4 separate regions of the Homo sapiens genome follow, and regions 2, 3 and 4 are each linked to region 1. Evidence: promoter capture Hi-C in 16 types of primary human blood cells and fetal thymus (Javierre and others, 2016). All regions are on one chromosome and are shown on one strand. The core of a region is centred on a gene start or on the middle of the fragment in contact, and the rest is flanking DNA. Distances in the headings are between cores, read along the strand shown.

Region 1 (3,488 bases), core at 302-2,801:
GTGAAGATTAAGGGAGAGAATAGCTGCAGAGCACTGAAAATACTGCTTGATGCTTGATAAGGAGCAAGCACTGGGAAAATATGACCTGTTACTACTCTGGTGAGCAGTTCACACAGTGAAGTCTTACACCATCTCAGTGGCTCTTTCTCCTCTCTCACTGCCTACGAGACAAAGTGGTCACCACTGCCTCCTCTTCACAGTTGAGGAAACTGAGGCCAAGAGAGTGGAGGTCAGTGAACTACCCAAGGCGTTATCTTTGTCAAATATCTCGAACTTAGAGAAAGTTCAGGTTTCCTGATGACCAGCCCTTTGCTTTTCCCAGGCGCCCCAGCCTAGGGACCCCTCCACCCAAGAACAATAAGCCTGGGCTTGGAGGGAGGGTAGGTGCCACCTCCCTGCCAGGTGCATGTCCGCACTGGGCCTTCCGTGAGTACAAGTCCCCCAGGTACCAGCAGGAGGCAGCATCGCCCGCGAGGTCTGCACGAGCGCTGCTCCCAGCGAGAAATTTGACATCCCTGTCCCTGTTTGCACAAGGCTTGATCTCCGCCTTTGAAACCTGCAGCCCCCAGGAGAATGAAAACCGGAGGTGTTTCCCAATCCGCTGGCCCGGGCGGCGTCGAGGGAGAGAAGCCAGGGCCCCTCTCAATCGCTGCCCCCTACTCCAGGGAGCACAGGCACTCCCGCGGGTCAGCGCTGGACACCAAGGTCCCAACAGGTTTACAGGCTGCCTGTGGCCTGTGGCTGCCAACGAGCTGGTGGCAGGACTGGGTCCAAGTGCCGTGCTGTTTCCATACTGGCTGCGCACAAGCCTACGTTTCTCCCTGAGGGTCGCCATCTCCCACCCAGGGCTCTGCCCTCCACCCTCCCTACCCTTCTGGCCTCGCTGTCCCTGGGGCAAGAACCCCGGTGAGCGAGGTCTGGAACCCATAGGCATCAGTTGCCTTTGCCCCAGGCGCCCAGAGCCGGCCAGCTGCGGTCCAGAGGCGCAGGTCCGCCAGCCGCCTCGCAGGTTGCCCTCAGCCCCTCCCAGGACTCCCGGGGCCCCCGGAGCATCCAACAGATACCCAGGGGCAGGGCCTGGGGCGCCGCGGACGGCACTGGAGGCAGCCGACCCTGGACAGACGACAGGGGAGAGAGCCAAGCGGACCCTGGCAGGAAGGGGGCTGGAGGCGGACGGTGGTCTCGGAGGCCACGGGGTCCGCTCGGGCTCTGCTCCCTCACGGTGGGCACGAGGGTCCGGCGCCCGCATCCCCGCGCCGCTCCCTCCCCACTTGTGCCCCGGGCGCCCCTCGCCCGCGATCACAGCCCATCTCAGCCCGGGCCTCCGCAGTGCCCGGCCCACGCCTCCTGCCCCTTCCCCGGACCCTGCCCGGGAGGTGTGGGGACCCGCAGGGCACCCAAAGCGGTAAGGGAGGAACCCGGCCCGCACACAGCCCCAGAAGCCCAGCGACCCCTAAGCCACGTACCGTCCCCAGGCAGCTCCTCGACGGCTAGAGCTCTCGGGGGCCGCGAGCTGTCCCGGTCCAAGGCAGCAGTCTGATTTCGGGGAAATTAAAAGGGCAGAAAGGAAGCGGCAGCAGAAAAACCCCCGCGCTCCCGCCAGACCAGCCCCTTAAAGGAACACGCGCACCTTTCCCTCCCAAGGGCTGGGCTCGAAGGGAGGAGCTGCTGCAGGCTTGAGCGGTCTCCAGACTCGCTGGGAACCACCGCAAAGAGGGTGTGCAAGAGTTGAGGCCCTCACGTCTTGGGAAAGGAGAGTAGGGGTGGAATAGGAGAGTTTGGGGAGGGGGGATCCCCTTAGAAAGCCTGGTATACCAAAAACAGTGGGAGTAAGCAGGGGAAGCCCCTGTCCAGCATTCTGCTAGGGGCTAAGGCTGCTCCCCACCTTTGATTGTGGAAGGGGTGAGACTTCTGTATTACTTTCTTTTCCAAATAGAAAGCAAGGGGGTGAGGCCAGGTGCAGTGAGTGGCTCATGCTTGTAACCCCAGCACTTTGGGAGGTGGAGGCCGGTGGATCACCTGAGGTCAGGAGTTCAAGACCAGCCTGGGCAACATGGTGAAACCCTGTCCCTACTAAAAATACAAAATTAGCTGGGCGTGGTGGAGCATGCCTGTAATCCCAGCTACTTGGGAGGCTGAGGCAGGAGAATTGCTTGAACCCAGGAGGCGGAGGTTGCAGTGAGCTGAGATCATGCCATTGTGCTCCAGCCTGGGCAACAAGAGCAAAACTCCGTCTCAAAAAAAAAAAAAAAAAAAAAGCAAGGGGTTGCTGATGTCCTCATGCCCCTGAGTTTGGCCATCATGAAACACTGGCCAGATTCCCAACTCACTGTCAGGCACATAGCAGGTGCTATCCCCAGCACATGGGGCTTGAATGAGTGGCCCTGGCTGGGAGGGGAGACACAGGGTGGGATACCTCTGCAGCCTGCAGGGGCAATCAGGCTTCTGAGTGGTCCTCCAACAGGGGTGGGCCTCCCTTCGGAATCCTGCTAATCAGCACAGCCATCCAGGCAGCCGCTCAGGATGCCTCTGTTTGGACAGGGTGTTTTCTTTCCTGTCCAGACCAATGGGGGCCCTGGCCTGGACAGCCCGATGTTTCCTCAGCAGAAAAGACTAAGGAGGTCCTTCAGCTTTGGCTGGGGGAAGGGTCGAAGGGTCACAGGGTCACAGAGCTCAGAGCCTCTTCCTAAACACAGCTCAAGTTGGCCCATGAGTGTGTGTGTGTGTGTGCATGTGTGTGTGTTACACACAGCCAGGGGCACATTGGAGCACAAAGAACTGTGATCAACAGGTAAACTACACCTAAAAGGAACGCCAGGCTTGATGGGCAAAGGGGAGCCAAGGTAGGTCCCTCTGCAGGTTCCCGACAGGGGAGAGGATGGACAGTAGGGAGAGCACATTTTGCTACAGTTAAGTCGAGTTGAACATGCCAGCCAGGGGTAGGGGTAGCCAGCAGGTGGAATCTGAACGCTCACCCTCTGCCTTGCAGTGGGGCAGAAAAAAGTCAATGTGTAGGGGTGATGGTAAAAGCTGGGCAAATGGAAGACACTGCTGAGGGAGAGAAGCCAAGGAAGGAAGGAGGGGGTCAGGAGTGAGGGGACTCCACTCCAGGGTCCCAGGAGGGGGACTTTTAGAAGGCTGTGGCCAACCCATCCCAGAGCAGAGATGCTTCTCCCACTGTCTGCTTATCCCCAGGGTATGCTGGAACAGGGGTTCAGGGCAGGAAACTCCCCCGGGAGGGAGACCTGAGGCTTGGAAGCACGCAGAAAGGCTTGGCTCTAAACCCAATCCACACCGCTCCGCAGAAGAGAGCTCTGAAACGGGAGGCAGTAGGCCAAGGGACACCCAGGGGAAGGGAGTCCCCCATCCTCAGTTCCTACGAAGACCACGGCCTGGGCCTTTTATTCAGACCCTGCTAGGCCCAGGAGCCCAGCAACCGCAGGTCTCAGAAAGGAACCACTTCCAGACACATTTCCCTGATGTGGTTC
Region 2 (3,488 bases), core at 515-3,014, 300 kb before region 1:
TCATACAGCATTTGTCTTTTTGTGACTGGCTTATTTCAGTTAGCATAATGTCCACAATGTTCATTCTTATTTTTACCTGTGTCAGAATTTCCTTCCTTTATAAGGCTGAGTAATATTCCATTATATATGCATACCACATTTTGCTTATTCATTCAGCCATCAGTAGACACTTGAGCTGCTGCCCTCTTTTTTCTTTCTCTCTTTCTTTCCTTCCTTTCTTTCTTTCTTCCTTCCTTTCTTTCTTCCCTTCTTTCTATTTATTTATTTATTTATATATTTTATTTATTTATATTTTGTCAGGGTCTCACTCTGTTGCCCAGGCTGGAGCACAGTGACATCATCTTGGCTCACTGCAACCTCTGCCTCCTAGATTCAAGTGATCCTCCCACCTCAGCCTCCTAAGTAGCTGGGACTACAGGCACATCCCACCACACCCAGCTAATTTTTATATTTTTTTGGTAGAGGCAGGGTTCCTCCATGTTGCCCAGGCTGGTCTCAAACTCCTGGGCTCAAGCAATCTGCCTGCCTGGGCCTCCCAAAGTGCTGAGATTAGAGGTGTGAGCTGTCGTACCTGGCCTCCATCTTTTGGCTATTGTGAATGGTGGTATATAAACCTGGGTCTACAAACATAGAATCACCTCCTTTCTAACTTTAAAGGCCGGGCGCGGTGGCTCACGCCTGTAATACCAGCACTGTGGGAGGCCGAGGCAGGTGGATCACAAGGGCAGGAGATCAAGACCATCCTGGCTAACATGGTGAAACCCCGTCTCTACTAAAAATACAAAAAAAAATTAGCCGGGCATGGTGGCGGGCGCCTGTAGTCCCAGCTATTCGGGAGGCTGAGGCAGGAGAATGGCATGAACCCGGGAGGCGGAGCTGGCAGTGAGCCGAGATCGTGCCACTGCACTCCAGCCTGGAGGACAGAGCGAGACTCTGTCTCAAAAAAAAAAAAAAAAGAATAGCTCTGTGTCACTTATAGAATTGCCCGGGTTACTTTGGCCATTAAAAGTATCACAGTAACCAAGATATTTATAATTCTCTATTATTGGATTTTAATTTCCTAGAGGTAAGCAGAGTCAAAATTCTAAAAGAACTTCTTTCTGAACTGGTGTCACTATATATTCACTATTGCCAAAATTATGTTTTCTTTTTCAAGAACAGCCTTCTCTGGTCTTCAGATATGACAAAATCCATCAGGTACTTGGTTGGTCCTTGAAATTAAATTTTAAAACTCTCTTGGTAATCTGGCAAAGGTTTAGAAATATTTGCTACACAATTGGGATGAAAGATGAGAGATCCAAGGTTTCTTAGAATGCCCGACGTGTGTGGGAGGTGAGTGTGATGACTTCATTCACTACACTGTTCTCTAATTCCACATTTGAGGTGTGTGGTTGTTGGCACAAGACAGGTGCCTCCTTAGCCATCCATAGCAAGCAAGTCTTTTAGCACCTGTAATCCAGTCTCCTTTCCAGAAAAGCTTCATTCTAAAATGTCAACCCATCTAGAAACTCAGTAATGTCTCCAAGATGCCTGACCCTCACAGAATCTTTTGACCTCTGGTCCATGGTTTGTCAATTCCAAGAAATGAATGCATGAGAATATTGAGGAAACTGGCAGTGTCAAGGTTTATCTTTATTTGGCTAATGGCGATGACAGTAAGGTCGGCTGAGCTGCCAATCTGTCCTCCAATTAAGTTCTAATCTGAAGAAGAATTGTTGTCCATGATTAAACTCCCACTGTCCTATGAAAAGGGAGTGTCTAGAAGTCAAATTCAAGATGGATCCACCACTTATCAGCTGTGTGGCTTCTGGCACGGCACCTAAAGAATAAACAAACCTGGAGAAAATAACACCTATCTCACAGAGCTGTGATAATTAAATTTAAGGGGGGTTTTTTGGTAGTAGTTGCTATAAAGTTATGTAAAACATTGTGTTGGAGAGCATTGAAAAATGTGAAGTACTATTAAAAATGTAAAAGAAATATTATTATTGTTTTGATTATTATTTGAGGTGTGGAAGGAAGTGGCCAGAAAGTAGATACCAGGAACAGAAGCAAGCTTATTGAGGAGGAGGACAAGGGCAGCTGGGCTGATGATGTATCTGAGTTGAGTAAAAACCAAATGCCTCTTATCAGCTCTTTACAGATAAGGTCAAACTCTCTCATGGTCACCTAATACCCCAGGCAAGATCTGCAGCAACCTGCACAGGTCTGAGACCCAGGCTCCACACCTGCTCTGATTATGCCCATCTGGAACAGTGCCAGATAAGGAATAGATGCCTAATAAATACCATCTACTCCCATATTTGTATCATACTATATTTTAATTATAGAAACTACCTAATCATGTTTCAGAAAATTTGGAAAACATGATAAAAAGAAAACATTTAAAAGCCACCTGTGATCTCTTTAACAGAAACTTTATCATACTTTGATGTACTTCTGTTCTATTTTTTCTATATATGTGCTTTCTAAAGACCTTACTTTAATGATATCTGTAAAGACAGTTCTATGTTCTGCTAATTTCCTTCCTTAACATTATGAGTATTTTCTTGGCTCATGTTTCAGCAAAAACATTAATTTTAGAGTTGGTAGAATATTCTATCCATTCAACAGATGATGTGCCAGTCTCCTATTGTTGGATATTATGTTGCTTCCATTTTAAAAAATATTAAACAATGTGACAATGGACACCTTTATGTATCTAACATTTTCTGTATTGAATATTATTTTATTTATTTGAGACAGAGTTTCCCTCTTGTTGCCCAGGCTGGAGTACAATGGTGCCATCTTGGCTCACTGCAACCTCTGCCTCTCGGGTTCAAGTGATTCTCCTGCCTCAGCCTCCCAAGTAGCTGGGATTACAGGCATGTGCCACCACGCCCTGCTAATTTTGTATTTTTAGTAGAGACGGGGTTTCTCCATGTTGGTCAGGCTGGTCTTGAACTCCCGACCTCAGGTGATCCATCTGTCTCGGCCTTCCAAAGTGCTGTGATTACAGGCGTGAGCCACTGCAGCAGCCCAAGATTATTTTATTAAGATATCCCAAAGAAAAACTGGTCCAAAGGGTGTGAACGTATTTGTGTTTATGACTTTTTTTTTTTTTTTTTTTTTTTGTAGAGACAGGGTCCTGCTGTATTGCCCAGGCTGGTCACTATGACCCTTGATACAACTTGCAAAATTGCTTTCCAGTGAATTTAACCAACTTGCAACCTCCACAGGGTATGAGTACTTATTTCACCATACCCTCTCCAACACTGGGAAGTAGGTTTTTAAATTTTTTGTTAATTCAGTATGTGGAAAATGGTACTCCACATTTTATAATTTACATTTCTATTTTAAATAAAGCAGAAAAATTCCAATTGTTTGTTTAACTTTGTTAAATTTTCTGTTTAACTGTTCATTTATTTTTTGTTTTCGGGGTGCGTGTGTGTGTGTGTGTGTGTGTGTGTGTGTGTGTGTGTAAAAATAAGTTCTTTGTTGCCCAGGCT
Region 3 (3,488 bases), core at 525-3,024, 280 kb before region 1:
AAGGTAACTTTATTGGAGTCTCAACACAAAAACCTCGGCGATACAAGGGTCACGGCATCTGGCCCGTCGCCTTAACTGCATCAACCGGGTTTACGAAACAGCCTGATTTCCAGCCCCACCCATCGCAACTGCAGCTGTCAGGTTTCCCGGCTCACGTTTCCCTGGATGAGCAGAGAGGCAGCGTCCTCTGCTGGAAGCTTTAGGTAACTCCACTTTAGCGGCAATTGTCAGTCTCAGCGACAAACTACTAACACCTGGGGAGATTTAAAAACCTTCCTGTTCAGGCCCCACCCCAGACCAGTTAAATCAGAATCTTGGGGTGGGGTGTGACCCAAGCGTCTGTGGTGCTTTTTTGTTGTTGTTGTTGTTGTTGTTTTGTTTTGTTTTGTGAGATGGAGTCTCGCTCTGTCGCCCAGGCTGGAGTGCAGTGGCGCGATCTCGGGTTCACGCCATTCTACCGCCTCAGCCTCCCGAACAGCTGGGACTACAGGCGCCCGCCACCACGCCCGGCCAAATTTTTTTGTATTTTTAGTAGAGAAAGGGTTTCACTGTGCTAGCCAGATGGTCTCGATCTGCTGACCTCGTGATCCGCCCACCTCGGCCTCCCAAAGTGCTGGGATTACAGGCGTGAGCCACCGCGCCCGGCCTCGTCTGTGTTTTTTCAAGTTCAGCATGTTGAGTCAAGGCTGGGGACCACTGAATGAAGGATTAATTTTATATGTGAGGGAACTCTAGTCTAGAATGGAGCAAGGAACGGCAGAGAATAAAACTCCCCTCGATCAAATCCCTCCAGTCTTCCATTAAAAAATTAGCCGTGTGACACTTAGCCTGGGCCTGAGAATCCCGGACATTCTCAGGAGTTGGGGGAGGGTACAAAGGTACCTTAATTGTCTTGGTGCCAGGCTGTGTCCTGGTAGGTCCAAAGTCCAGCTGCTGCTGGATCAAGAGAGCTAAGAGGCGGGGAGCTGCGTGCATAAAACAAGTACCTTATTCACATTTAGCACTGGGAATGTCGTCAGCTTCATACTCTCCAACACAATGGATCCTAAACTTCGGCATGCCTCAGGATTAGCTATTTCATCAGCTTGTTAAAATGCTGGGCCCCACCCCCTAATTTTCTTAATCCTACCCCTTGACTTTCTGGGCCTCATCCCCTGACTTTCTGGGCCCCACAGCCTGATTTTCTGATTCAGTAGGTCCAACAAACTCCCAGGTAAATGCCCATGCTGCTGGGCTAGGACGACACGTGGAGAACAATTGCTCTAAAAATTGAGCAGATCAACACTCTCTTTCAAGTCTGCACCTGGCCCAGCACCATGGGGATCCCCACAGTACCCCCAAAAAGTCCTCAGAATGAGTACACAGGGCAGGCAGAATGGCACTCTGACTGTAGCATAATGATTTGTAAATGCAAAACAGGTCAAGTCCTGTCTCAAGTGTTTTCAGATTGAAAATGCGGAGGGGGAAATGATGGGGTCCTTGAAGTCAGAGCTTGGATCATGGGTTTTTCCCCACCAGGCCCCAGCCTAAACAAGCTCTGTTATAAAGGAGCCCTCGTCTTTGTGGAAGGAGGCGTTTTTTGTTTTTTTTTCTTCAAGATGGAGCCTTGCTCTGTCATCCAGGCTGAAGTGCAGTGGCGCCATCTCGGCTCACTGCAACCTCTGCCTCCCGGGTTCAAATGATTCTCCTTCCTCAGCCTTCTGAGTAGCTAGGATTACAGGCAAGTGTCACCATGCCCGTCTAATTTTTGTATTTTTAGTAGAGATGGAGTTTCACCGTGTTGGTCAGGGTGGTCTTCAACTTCTGAACTTGTGATCCACCAGCCTCTGCTTCCCAAAGTGTTGGGATTACAGGCGTGAGCCACCGCACCTGGCCTAGGAGGGAATATTTTTATTCAATCCAGGGGCAGCCTCTGGGTAGAAGGGAAGGGCTGACTTGGTTCAGCAAGGTCAAGAGCCTTGCCAAAAGTCACACAGCTAGCAGAAGTTGGAGGGTGAGTTTAGTGGTTTCCCTAAGAAAGAAGGGGTATGGGTATTACCATCCACAGTCAAGATGACAGTGTGAGACCACCCTTACTGAATACCTGGGACATCAAGTTTTTTTACTTAGCAATTTTTTTATGATAAATGTAAGTATAGATGGTCCCTGACCTACAATGGCTCAATTTAACATTTTTCAACTTTACAATAGTGCAAAAGCAATACACATTTAGTAGAAACCTTACTTCAAGTGTCCATACATTCTGTTTTTTATTTTCAGTACAGTCGTGAATAAATTATGTGACATGTTCAGTACTTTATTATAACATTTGTGTTAGATGATTTTGCCCAACTGTAGGCCAATGTAAATGTTGTAAGTACATCTAAGGTATGTCAGGCTAAGCTATAGACGTTTGGTAGGTTAGATGTATTAAGTGCATTTTCAACTTGTGAATTATAGTGGGTTTATCCGGACATGGCCTCATTGTTAAGTCACAGAGCATCTGTTAATATGGACATCTTAAAAAGACGTCATTAAATGAACGCAATGGAGTCTAAATATCATAATGATTTGATACAAATATTATTCATTTTCATTTATTTATTTTTTGTAGAGGTGGGGTCTCACTATGTTGCCCAGGCTGGAGGGTAACACAATCATAGTGCACTGTGGTCTCAAACTCCTGCCCTTCTCAAGTGATCCTCCCACCTCAGCCTCCAAAGTAGCTGGGACTACAGGCATGTGCCACCTTGCCTAGCTTCTTTATTTATTTATTGAGACAGAGTCTTGCACTGTTGCCCAGGCTGGAGGGCAGTGGTGCAATCTTGGCTCGCTGCAACCTCTATCTCCGGGGTGCAGGAGATTCTCATGCCTCAGCCTCCTGAGTAGCTGGGATTATAGGTGCCCACGACCATACCTAGGTAATTTTTGTGTTTTAGTAGAGACAGGATTTCACCATGTTGGCCAGGCTGGTCTCAAACTTGAGACCTCAGGTGATTCACCCGCCTTGGCCTCCCAAAGTGTTGGAATTACAGGCGTGAGCCACAGCGCCCGGCCTTCATTTTTAAAGTACATGAAAAAACTATTTATGACAATGTTGAGTTTTACCTAAGCACTGTGCTCCTAGAGAACAGCAATGATTAACCCCTTACCCCCTAACCCCACCTCAACCCCGTCTCTCGGGTTCTGGAAATGGCTCACTGCAATGACTGAGATAAAACTCATGGATTCCCCTCTATGGCGATTCCCCACTATACCCTGTTACTAGACCGGATACAGATAGCCCCAATTCCCATTTGCCTCATAAGTGACTAGCTGAAATGCTTGGCCCATTGATCAGCTGGAAAAAAATGCTCATTAATGAAACTTTGGTTAAGCTTTTGTCCTTCCCCAAGGCCTCTGAATTTTGGCCCACCCTCAGCCTAAACCAGCATGAAATCCCTCTGTAACAGCCCCCTTGAGAACAGGCTGGCCTCAGGATAAAGCAATCTCTGATCTACTGCCCCACC
Region 4 (3,488 bases), core at 335-2,834, 260 kb after region 1:
ACTACACTCCAGCCTGGGCAACAGAGCAAGACTCTGTCTGAAAAAAAAAAAAAATCCTGTTTTAGCTAAGGTTCTGGCTTCTGGACTGCTTGTTCTTGATTCTTATTAGCTCTCTCTTTAGATTATATATGTATACATAAACAATAAACACATAAAATATGCATCTGTATATGCACAAATATTTGGGATGTTATAAGCAAATAAATTGTAATATGTTTTAATGGGAAATAACTAAAAATTATATCTATCATCTCACCATAACTATAATTTTCTATTTCTTCCAACTACCCTTCTGTCTTTATCAATGTCTACATAGTTTTTATTTATTGCAGTCATAGCATGTATATCTATGGTGATTTATTTAAATAACTCTATATTCACCAACATAAAGATGTTTAATCTGTTTAAGAGCCACATTGCTGTTACTACTCTGTTATAGTTTATTTAACCATTTATCTTTGTAGGACATATGAATTATTTAAAGTTTTTCAGCATTTTAAATAACAATGCTGTAAATACTGTGTCTTGTACATAGAATTATTTTCTCTTGAATGACCTTGGAGTAAATGCCCAGTAAAATTGCAGAGTCAACATTTTTTTATGCATATTTGTACATCTTGTCAGATTGACCTCCAGCAAGGTCATTCCAATTACGTTGCCACTGGTAACATGCAAGGGCACTGTCTCCTATAAGGGCAGGTAAGGGAAGGTCACAGGTATGGAAGCATGAACAGGTATACCTGCTTTGTGCCAAGCAGGGTGTTGGGTGCCCTGAGTTCATTTCCTCTTCTGTATTCACACCCACAGCTGAAGATACCCATTTTACAGACTCCGTTCTGTTCAGCAGTTTGGTCAGTAGCTTGAAAATATAGGTGAATTTGGCCGAGCGCAGTAGCTCAAGCCTGTAATCCCAGCACTTTGGGAGGCCAAGGCAGGCAGATCACGAGGTCAGGAGATGGAGACCATCCTGGCTAACATGGTGAAACCCCATCTCTACTAAAAATACGAAAAAGTAGCCGGGCGTGGTGGCGGGCACCTGTAGTCCCAGCTACTCGGGAGGCTGAGGCAGGAGAATGGCGTGAACCTGGGAGGTGGAGCTTGCAGTGAGCTGAGATCGCGCCACTGCACTCCAGCCTTGGTGACAGAGTGAGACTCCATCTCAAAAAATTAAAAAAAATAAATAAATAGGTGAATGTCCAGATTTACAGATAGCACAGGCACAGGGTGAATAGTGAGTATGTGGGAGACAGAATTGGACCCAAAAGTCAGAAATAGGCCAAATCAAACACAAAGAAAACAATGGGGAATAATGGTAATGTCCTGTGCTTGGATATATAGATTGTCTATACAAGTAGAAGATGGGGAGGCATGGCTTGGCTGCAGGGCCAGGATGGAGATTTGGGAGCACTAACAGTACAGTGTGAACACTTACTGTGTGCCAGTGGGAACACTTAATGTGCACCAGACACAGTACTGATGTCACATGTAGGCACAATCTCTTTTATCTCCACAGCAACCCATGGGACCGTAAAATTCTGATGAAAAAACTGAGGCATAGAGAGGTTAAGTGATTTGGGCAAGGGCACAGAGCCAGTAAGTAGAAGAGCTAAGAGAGGAGCCTGGATCTGGCTGCCGGAATCATCTCAGAGATAGCAGAGTAACTGGGTCTGTATAGTCTAGGCCTCCCAGCTCCAGAGTGCTGTACTGTTGGGGCTGTAGGCCAAAGAGACCAGATTGGAAGGCGTTACCACACCAGGTCAGGGGAGACCAGCAGCTGAAGAGCAGAGAAGAATAGGTTAAGTGCAGGCCTTGCTCCCAGAGAGTACCTGGGTCAGGAGACAGGCTCTGGATCCGATGCCCCAGCACTGCCACTGATGCTGTGTGGCTCGAGCAGTTTCTTAAACTCAGTTCCAGATTCTTCAGCTGCAGTAAGGTGGAGCTACAATTAAATGTGGGTTACTGAGGACTTGGTAGGCAGTTGATTACATATAGTAAACATTTATTGTATGTTAGGTTCATTCTTTTTGTTTTGTTTTGTTTTGTTTTTTTGAGGCAGAGTCTCACTCTGTCACCCAGGAGGGAGTGAAGTAGTGCAATCATGGCTCATTGAAGCCTCAACCTCCCAGACTCAAGCCAGCTTCCCACCTCATTTTTTAATTTTTTGTAGAGACAAGGTCTCACTATGTTGTCCAGGCTGGTCTCGAACTCCTGAGCTCAAGTGATCCACCCACTTCGCCCTCCCAAAGTGCTGGGATTACAGATGTGAGCCACCGTGCCAGCCAGGTTTATTCTTATTCAAATACTTGAAGGTATATTCATGTTGGTGAGAGATTAACCGTGCTGTTTGTGACCCAGATAAATAAGATGTGTTCTGCCAGGGAGATGTGAGTGTCGTTAAAGAATTACAATACAACGCCGGGCACGGTGGCTCATGCCTGTAATCCCAGCACTTTGGGAGGCTGAGGTGGACAGATTACCTGAGGTCAGGAGTTTGAGAGCAGCCTGGCCAACATGGTGAAACCCTGTGTCTACTACAAACACAAAAATTAGCCAGGCATGGTGGCAGGCACCTGTAATCCCAGCTACTTGGGAGCCTGAGGCAGGAGAATCACTTGAACCCAGGAGGCGGAGGTTGCAGTGAGCCGAGATCACACCACTGCACTTCAGCCTGGGCAACAGAGCGAGACTCCATCTCAAAAAAAAAGGAATTACAATACAGTGTGATGAGTGGACTAACACAGCGGGCCTGGTGAATGTGCTGCAGCAGCATGGAGAAACCAGCCTCGATCTATGGGCGAGGAGTCAAGTTGTGGGAGGAAGAATTCTCCCAGGAAAGGCATTTGAGCTGGGTTCTCAAAGATGAGCTCCTAAACAGAGGCACTCATGAACAGTTGGAGTTTGTAGACAGGGGAGTGCGCTATGGAAGGGCAACCCATGCAGAAGAGCAGCATTCACAGCTGCCTTAAGAGCACTGTATGTTTGGACTGAGGAGCTGCCTGTGAGCATGAAAAACCCTTGGAGATGAGGTGAATCCATCAGGGGAGAGCTTCAGGCCCCCAATTTTGAAAATTAACTATCTCCTTCAATTTGTGGATGGTGTTGTTACATTTTATTTCATCAGAATTTTAGAAGTAAATTTCTGTAGTTTATTATACTTTAGAAATGTTCTAGAAAGACAGGTGACCTAGAAAAAAAATGGGTGTCTTCTTCTAGCCATACTATTTGTTTTTTTGTGTGTATCAGTACATGTTTTACTTGTTAATAATTTCTTTTAACCATTGGAGGATAAGCTCAAACAAATAGGACCTTAAAAAGGTCAGAAATCCAGAATTTGGATGCTTTGTTGAAATGTAAAAATTAAAACATCTTTCGTAGCTTCAAAGAGCCTAGAGAGAGAAAGCGCTAGTGTTTCGTTAGGTGCTATTGATGTAATTTTAGTTTAAAATAAAGTTTTTAATAAATGTTTTCCTGGGCTGGTGGAAAAGGAG

Evidence for each region. The method cuts DNA at HindIII sites, captures the fragments that hold promoters and counts their contacts. A CHiCAGO score of 5 or more calls a contact.
Region 2: a contact is called between a fragment that was not itself captured here and the fragment with the promoter of HAPLN3 in region 1, in 9 of 17 cell types (naive CD8 T cells, total CD8 T cells, naive B cells and 6 more). The highest score is 10.7, in naive CD8 T cells.
Region 3: a fragment that was not itself captured here is called in contact with the fragment with the promoter of HAPLN3 in region 1 in 5 of 17 cell types (total CD8 T cells, naive CD8 T cells, naive CD4 T cells and 2 more); the score reaches 9.3 in total CD8 T cells.
Region 4: a contact is called between a fragment that was not itself captured here and the fragment with the promoter of HAPLN3 in region 1, in 1 of 17 cell types (naive CD8 T cells). The highest score is 6.4, in naive CD8 T cells.

What each region holds. Positions count from the first base shown.
Region 1 is chr15:88,893,993-88,897,480 of GRCh38, forward strand. It overlaps HAPLN3 (hyaluronan and proteoglycan link protein 3), which reads right to left and starts at 1,552. Exons shown (of 5, transcript NM_178232.4): 1 at 1,467-1,552. RefSeq lists enhancers at 778-1,389, 3,386-3,488. The HindIII fragment of the contact is 19,838 bases long and covers 1-3,488 here.
Region 2 is chr15:88,598,487-88,601,974 of GRCh38, forward strand. The region is part of intron 2 of LINC01586 (long intergenic non-protein coding RNA 1586); the gene reads right to left. Among named protein-coding and RNA genes, the nearest start is that of LINC01586, 4.9 kb to the right of the region's middle. The HindIII fragment of the contact is 579 bases long and covers 1,476-2,054 here.
Region 3 is chr15:88,614,517-88,618,004 of GRCh38, forward strand. It overlaps a transcript of AEN not described here. Among named protein-coding and RNA genes, the nearest start is that of MIR3529, 4.3 kb to the left of the region's middle. The HindIII fragment of the contact is 3,159 bases long and covers 196-3,354 here.
Region 4 is chr15:89,156,682-89,160,169 of GRCh38, forward strand. The region is part of intron 5 of ABHD2 (abhydrolase domain containing 2, acylglycerol lipase); the gene reads left to right. Among named protein-coding and RNA genes, the nearest start is that of RLBP1, 63 kb to the right of the region's middle. The HindIII fragment of the contact is 5,010 bases long and covers 1-3,488 here.